Regions from separate parts of the Homo sapiens genome. Here all the other regions are linked to region 3. Evidence: promoter capture Hi-C in human tissues and cell types (Jung and others, 2019). All regions are on one chromosome and are shown on one strand. The core of a region is centred on a gene start or on the middle of the fragment in contact, and the rest is flanking DNA. Distances in the headings are between cores, read along the strand shown. Region 1 has its middle 100 kb from the start of SST. Region 2 has its middle 78 kb from the start of SST. Region 3 holds the start of SST (somatostatin).

Evidence for each region. Contacts are between HindIII fragments. The study calls those that stand out against the background at their distance.
Region 1: a contact is called between a fragment that was not itself captured here and the fragment with the promoter of SST in region 3, in 2 of the 25 tissues and cell types used here (H1 embryonic stem cells and neural progenitor cells).
Region 2: a fragment that was not itself captured here is called in contact with the fragment with the promoter of SST in region 3 in 4 of the 25 tissues and cell types used here (liver, mesendoderm cells, stomach and 1 more).

Annotation. Positions count from the first base shown.
Region 1 is chr3:187,567,350-187,570,049 of GRCh38, reverse strand. No RefSeq gene overlaps it. Among named protein-coding and RNA genes, the nearest start is that of SST, 100 kb to the left of the region's middle. RefSeq lists enhancers at 641-1,623, 1,624-2,607. The HindIII fragment of the contact is 3,547 bases long and covers 1-2,700 here.
Region 2 is chr3:187,590,818-187,593,517 of GRCh38, reverse strand. No RefSeq gene overlaps it. Among named protein-coding and RNA genes, the nearest start is that of SST, 78 kb to the left of the region's middle. The HindIII fragment of the contact is 3,762 bases long and covers 1-2,700 here.
Region 3 is chr3:187,669,092-187,671,791 of GRCh38, reverse strand. It overlaps SST (somatostatin), which reads left to right and starts at 1,398. Exons shown (of 2, transcript NM_001048.4): 1 at 1,398-1,638; 2 at 2,515-2,700. The coding sequence starts at 1,501. The HindIII fragment of the contact is 6,645 bases long and covers 1-2,700 here.

The DNA.
Region 1 (2,700 bases), core at 58-2,557, 100 kb after region 3:
TCATTATCTAGTTAACTTTTCACAACCCCTATCTGGCACCATTTCCTAGTATTTGGAGACTGATGGGATACAGACCTGGCAATATTCCTTATTCCTTTTCAGGTTAAAATCCCTTCCAGGAGTGCTTCACAGTCAGGTGCTTTTATTAATTCAGTCATTTTCTCTCAGCCAGCAGTTTCTTGACAAGCCCATAGGCTGTGGCTTGACCCTTACTGAACCTACACCGTGGACATCAGTGGGGTTCCGTGTGTCCTAATGTAGCCTGAAGGTACAACTTGCAGTATTAAGTGTGGGATGGAGTGAGGTCAGGGACAGATCTGTCACTTACTCAGTGGTCCTGAGCCTTGATGATTTTACCCATCTTATAAATGAGAATAACAATCTTAGCTTTGCCTACCTCCCAGGGTAAAATGGATTTAAGAGACATTGATTGTTATGGGTTGAATTGTGTCTCCTCCAAAATTCCTGTGTCAAATATCTACTCCCAATAGCTCAGCATGTGACCTATGAATTGCAACAATTCAGTCACATCTTCACGCTCTGTCATGCAGGCTGGAGTGCAGTGGTGGGATCTCGGCTCACTGCAACCTCTGCCCCCCGGGTTCACGCCATTCTCCTGCCTCAGCCTCCTGAGTAACCGGGACTACAGGCATCCGCCACCACACCCGGCTAATTTTTTTGTATTTTTTTTTAGCGGAGACGGGGTTTCACCATGTTAGCCAGGACGGTCTCGATCTCCTGACCTCGTGATCCGCCCACCCCAGCCTCCCAAAGTGCTGGGATTACAGGCGTGAGCCACCACCCCTGGCCCCTTCAATAGCTTTTTATTTGTATTCAGAATTTGGCTAGAGGCCAATTTGACACAAGAGGCTTAGCTTTCAGCTTATCTTGGCTTTTGACATGCTTTCTTCACTAAGCTTAGTCATTTCTAACTTTTGATTTAAAGTGAGAGATGTGTGACTCTTCCTTTCACTTGAACACCTGGAGGCCATTGTAGGGTTGTTAATTGATCTAATTGTCTCAAGTTACAGGGAAATCCAAGGAGAGGGAGAGAGACATGGGAATGGCCAATTCATAGAGCAGTCAAAACACGCACATTTATCTATTAAGTTTGCCATCTTATATGGTGTGGTTTGTGATACTCCAAACAGTTGTAATATTAACTTCAAGGATCACTGATCACAGATCACCATAACAGATATGATAATAATGAAAAAGTTTGAAGTATTGCAAGAATTACCAAAATGTGACACAGAGACATGAAGGAAGCACATGCTGTTGGAAAACTGGCACCAGTGGACTTACTTGGTGAATGCAAGGTTGCCACAATCCTTCAATTTGTAAAAAACTCAGTATTTGTCAAGTGCAATAAAGCAAAGTCAACAAAACAATGTATGCCTGTATGTATTTTGCATTTGCTGGAAACCACATAAAATACTTTACTGATTTTGTGAAGTGAACAAAATGTCTCCATCAGCCAAAGGGGTAATCCTTGATTCATTCTTCCTCCTGAGATTTAGCACATAGAGCCCAGGAGCAGAAGCCAAGGGTGGCCTGCCTGGTTGGCCGCCCTGTGCCACCAGTCCACTTCCGGCTGAAGCCTTGGCCTGCCCCATGTTGGCTCCAACCCAGCTCCCACCAGTCGCTCATGCCAAAGGAAAAAATTCAACATATGCTTTTTTGACTCCTGATTCACCACCCTCTCCACCACAGGCATGGATCTCAGACTCTTCTTTAACACGCTGAAACTGAGTTTATTTAGCTTGTCTCATCTCTCTTTGAAAAACAATTGCTGCATATTCTGAGCTGCCTTCTCAGTCCCATGCTTCTCTGTTATGGATGACAATCCTACTTCTCCCAGACTTTGCCAATCATTTTAAAGAAGCTTTTCAAATGCTGTGAGCAGCTGTGTGTGTGTGTGTGCACATGTGTGTGTATAATGTCAGTGTGTTGGGCTCCCTCACCAGAGAGTCAGCTCCAAAATGTCAGAACCCCAGGTCTCTCTTGCTCAATCAGTACCTAGCGCATGATTGGGCTACAACATGATTACTGAATGCATAAATGAATGACTTTTATGTGAGAAAGGTGGTATGATCTAACTTTAAGAATTTAAGACCGTCAAAACCTGTGGTTTAATTATTACATCCAGAAATAACATTTACTAGCTGTGTACAAGTGAACAAATCACCACTCAGAAGAGCCTCAGCATTGGAATCTGTGGAATGTAGATAATGCTAACTTCTCTGCTTAGCTAAAAGAAATTGGGAAGTTCAAATGAGGTAAAGAATGGTGTGGTTGTTTTATGCACCAACTTGGCTAGGTTGTTGTACTCAGTTATTTAATCAAATACAAACTTAAGTTGTTGCTGTGAAGGTATTGTGTAGACATAGATAACATATACCATTAGTTGACTCTAAGTAGAAGAGATTATACTCTCCAACTGGATGGATCTTATCTAATCAGTTGAAAGGTTTTAGGAGCAAAAAACCGAATTTTCCCACAGAAGAAGAAATTCTCCCTCAAGACTGCAGCAGCCAGTCCTGCCTGAATTTCCACCCTGCTAGCCTGCCTTACAAATTTTAAACTTGCCAGTCCTCACAATTACATCAGCTAGTTCCTTGAAATAACTCATACATATATGATTATAAATAAATGATAAATATAAATTATTTATTTCAAGGAATATATACATAAGCATTA
Region 2 (2,700 bases), core at 149-2,648, 78 kb after region 3:
GAGGACTGTGCATTTGGGTGGAGCCTCGGGAAGCTCATGCCGGTTGCAGTAGGCAGGAGCCTGGCCCCTCCTCTTCCTGGGTGGAAGCTGGGATTCAATCTGATGTGAGAGCATGTTTACAGGAACCTATCTCGTGTTGCTGAGTTTTTTTCCTTTTCGCCCAATAAATTCCATTTTTCTCACCCTTCAAAGAGTCTGCGAGCCTAATATTTCATGGTCATGTGGCAAGGACCCAATTTTTAGCTAAACTAAGGAGAAAGTCTTACAACATTATGATGGAAATTAAGCTGGAGCCATCAGAAAGTCTGTCCAGCACAGAGAATGATGGTATTCCTTCGTTTAAGAGTTCAAAATCTCTGCAGCTCAAAAATCACCTATCTAGCATAACTAAACACACACACACACGTTATTTTATCTTCCTGATTACAATCATGACAACCTAAATTGATTGAGCATTTACTATATGCCACAGAAGTTTAGCTCCTCATATGCTTTATTAAATTTAATCCTTCTCACTGTCCTATTGAAAGTTTATATTATTATGTATTTCATAGATAATTATGAATATTATAAATTAAGTAACCAATAATATTCAGATATTACTAAACATCATAGGCATGTAGTGAGGGAGCCAGGATTTCAATCCAAGTGTGTTTAATACCGGGATCCTAAATACTCTGCTTTTCTGCCTCTTTTCTTCATGAAGCTTAGTACATTGGAAATGCCAAAAATAACCTGGTTTGCGCCCAGAATAACTCAATGAGAATTGGAGGGGTGCTGAAGATAAACTAAAATAATATTATGATTTCTCTGTCATGAATAAGAGACAGCTATGCTCCATTTTGCCCAAGGAAGTAAAATTATCTTATTAATGAGAGAAGCAGAAATTCACAGCCCCAGAGGAGGAAACCTTCCCAGTTTTTGTGGTTCTCCATCAGTTTTAGATGGAGGGGGCTTCTAGATGTCAACCTAATTTATGGCTGCGTCCTTGAAGTTCTTGTGCAGGAGTTGAGGTTGGGGAAGAGAGTAGGGAAAAGAGGGTCAAGTCTGCTCTCCCGAGGAAGAACTTGTTTAACTTCAGAACCTTTGGGAGTTTGAATAATTAAAGGTGTGTGTGTGAGTGTGTTGTTTCCTGTGGAAGATTTTCTGGCCATGACTTCCGGTCATCACAGCTGCTTTAGCACATGCTCAAGGAGGAGTCACTTCAAGTCTGATTCAATTTTAAAATACTAAAAGAGAAAAGAGAAAACAGAAAAGCTCTCCTGCAACTCCTCAAGACAATAAGAAAAACAAACACAGAATTCCCTATGTCAGAAAAGGAGCTCTAGAGGCTCTTTTATCAGTTTGATGTTTGCAGCCACCCTGAGATGATGTTGCAAACTTTGGATTTTTCAAACAATTGATGATTTGCATTCCAAGAGAAGCTTTTCATTTTCTCTACTTTTCTAAAGGTCATGTTATACAAGGGATTCTTGAAGCTGCTTGAGTCATTTGATTCCACAGAGACTCAGGAGCACTGTGGAAATAGCCTCAACTAAGGAATCTGGATATCTTCAAAAGTTTTCAAAGCAGGGCCCTGGAAAGCATGAGAGTTTTAAATGTTGCCTTAAAACTAGTCTGGATTTCCCTTAAAAATACTGGAAAATATTGAAAAATATTTCCTCCTAGCACTTTGGAAGGCCAAGGCAGGAGGATCACGTGAGCCCAATAGTTCAAGACCAGCCTGGCAACATAGTGAGATCCTATCTCTATTAAAAACAATTTTGAATTGATTACAGACATGCCCTTGTCCCAAGGACAAAGGAGCACAGGAGAGGCATCCACAGCAAGAGATGCCAACATATTTTGAAAAGTCTGAAAGTGGGGTAAAGACCATGCCAACACAAGGACCCCAAAAGTGGGGTGCTATGAGAAGTGAGCTGATGTGACCCACAGAACCCTTACGAATCTCAGCTGTGGCAGAAAGAGCAGGGAGAGGGTGCTGGGAGCAAAAGCAGGGAGATTAGCTGGAAGCCTGAAAAAGAATCGTGAGCACTCCGGTTCCCTTTCTTACTACAGACTACTAGGGAGTTAGCCGTGCCTCACAACACTGGAGACCTGAGGCTTGCTCTCTTGGAAAACAGAATCATTTCATTCCTGAGTTGGGGCACCACACATAGTGCAAGGCTGATGTCTAATATATGGCCTAAAACACGGGGAAGGGGAAGGGAAAGATTTGCATACTGAACCAAGGAAGTCTCATTTCACTTTCTAACCGCATCCCACCCGCCCCCTGCCCCTCCCCCTGGGCCTTGGTAGCTGGAGCTCTGGCCACAGGGCAGAATGTGTTTTTCTATGGGGAAACCAAAGGAATTCATTTAAAAAGACTTGTAGATTTTATATAAAGTGCCAAACAAAAGCTAACCAGATGCCTGAGAACTCCACAGAAAAGATAGAGAGTCGGCATGTCCCATCCACAGTCACAAAGAAGTATGAACGTATGAATGGGTTGCCAAGGATACCAGGCATCTGAAAAGCCTTCAAACATGAGTGTAAAAGAGATGATTACAACAAACAAACAATAATAATAATGAATTCAGAGGACACAGAGACAATGCAGGGCAGAAGAAAATTAAAATATAATAACTTACAATTAACATCCCCGGAGAGATAAGAGCTGAAACAAGAATAGGAAGCATAAAAACCAGAAGGAGGCCTTGG
Region 3 (2,700 bases), core at 149-2,648:
TCTGCCTCTCAACACTGTGGTTCGGGTCTAAGTACTGAGAATATTTTAATACCTAATATGAGCTTCGCATGGTTTCCAGAGATGCAGCATATCTTTTTAGCTAATATTGGCTTTTTTGAAGCTCATAAGATAACAGCTCTTAAAGATCCTGTAGGGATCATCTCGTCCATGCTAGGAAATTAGCTGGTCCTTCCTCAGTAAGGAACTATTTAGATAAAAGCAGTCAGAACTCTGGCCTGAACAGTAAACATTTAACCAGAGTTCAATCAGAATTCAAGGACAGGTTTTCTTAAACTTTCTTTGTTTCTAGGAGATCAGGCAGAGCTGAATTTAACCAAGAATCTTTTGATCCTTTCCACATATAGATATACAATAGTGGTCACATATGTTCTGGGAGTTCCTAGACCTTATATGTCTAAACTGGGGCTTCCTGACATAAAACTATGCTTACCGGCCAGGAATCTGTTAGAAAACTCAGAGCTCAGTAGAAGGAACACTGGCTTTGGAATGTGGAGGTCTGGTTTTGCTCAAAGTGTGCAGTATGTGAAGGAGAACAATTTACTGACCATTACTCTGCCTTACTGATTCAAATTCTGAGGTTTATTGAATAATTTCTTAGATTGCCTTCCAGCTCTAAATTTCTCAGCACCAAAATGAAGTCCATTTCAATCTCTCTCTCTCTCTTTCCCTCCCGTACATATACACACACTCATACATATATATGGTCACAATAGAAAGGCAGGTAGATCAGAAGTCTCAGTTGCTGAGAAAGAGGGAGGGAGGGTGAGCCAGAGGTACCTTCTCCCCCATTGTAGAGAAAAGTGAAGTTCTTTTAGAGCCCCGTTACATCTTCAAGGCTTTTTATGAGATAATGGAGGAAATAAAGAGGGCTCAGTCCTTCTACTGTCCATATTTCATTCTCAAATCTGTTATTAGAGGAATGATTCTGATCTCCACCTACCATACACATGCCCTGTTGCTTGTTGGGCCTTCCTAAAATGTTAGAGTATGATGACAGATGGAGTTGTCTGGGTACATTTGTGTGCATTTAAGGGTGATAGTGTATTTGCTCTTTAAGAGCTGAGTGTTTGAGCCTCTGTTTGTGTGTAATTGAGTGTGCATGTGTGGGAGTGAAATTGTGGAATGTGTATGCTCATAGCACTGAGTGAAAATAAAAGATTGTATAAATCGTGGGGCATGTGGAATTGTGTGTGCCTGTGCGTGTGCAGTATTTTTTTTTTTTTAAGTAAGCCACTTTAGATCTTGTCACCTCCCCTGTCTTCTGTGATTGATTTTGCGAGGCTAATGGTGCGTAAAAGGGCTGGTGAGATCTGGGGGCGCCTCCTAGCCTGACGTCAGAGAGAGAGTTTAAAACAGAGGGAGACGGTTGAGAGCACACAAGCCGCTTTAGGAGCGAGGTTCGGAGCCATCGCTGCTGCCTGCTGATCCGCGCCTAGAGTTTGACCAGCCACTCTCCAGCTCGGCTTTCGCGGCGCCGAGATGCTGTCCTGCCGCCTCCAGTGCGCGCTGGCTGCGCTGTCCATCGTCCTGGCCCTGGGCTGTGTCACCGGCGCTCCCTCGGACCCCAGACTCCGTCAGTTTCTGCAGAAGTCCCTGGCTGCTGCCGCGGGGAAGCAGGTAAGGAGACTCCCTCGACGTCTCCCGGATTCTCCAGCCCTCCCTAAGCCTTGCTCCTGCCCCATTGGTTTGGACGTAAGGGATGCTCAGTCCTTCTAAAGAGTTTTGGTGCTTTTCTGGGTCCCTCAGCTCCCGAAGCTCTTGAGAAAACTATCAAAGGCTAGAATCCCCTTCTAACTCTTTTTTTCCCCCATGATAAGCGCAGTCGGTCACAGTTCAGGTGAGTTCTTACTTGGCATTCAAGAAAATTACAAAATCTGGGTAGTTGTCTGGGCACGAAGCGACAATGGCGTCTATCCCTGGTGCTGACCCTGGGAAGCGCTGACCCAGGTGCTGAAACGCAGACCTCTGAAGCTGCTACCTCTTAGCGTACCTCACTTCCAAACGTCGGGACTAGGGCAAAGGGGCAATCTAAAGACCGAACGCCGTATGTTTGAGATTGTGAGAAGTCTCGTTCCCCTACAGTTTACTTGGTAAAAATGGTAAAACAATTCTACTTTGTAGCTCGTGATGTGAAAATTGAATTAAACTGTTGGCACACACTTTATCTTACCAGAACGGTCTTTATGTGTGTGTGTGTGTGTGTGTGTGTGTTTGTGCGTGTGTGTGTGTGTGTGTGTGTGTTAAGTCTACAGGGACAGAAAGGTTGCAGAAACATTTGAGCTCTTAAAGCCTTTTTGTGTAACTTGGTAATTATAGCAACTATCCTTATTTTTATATCCTTGATTGATTTTAAATGTGACAAAAAATGCGCAGCTGTAAAAACTGGATTTTGTGTGTGACCAAATCTGTTCTTTAATTTAGGCTTTTCAAATTTTTTCCATTGTCCTCCCCACTTCTCTTTCTCTCTTTTTCTATCCCTTCTGCCCTATACAGGAACTGGCCAAGTACTTCTTGGCAGAGCTGCTGTCTGAACCCAACCAGACGGAGAATGATGCCCTGGAACCTGAAGATCTGTCCCAGGCTGCTGAGCAGGATGAAATGAGGCTTGAGCTGCAGAGATCTGCTAACTCAAACCCGGCTATGGCACCCCGAGAACGCAAAGCTGGCTGCAAGAATTTC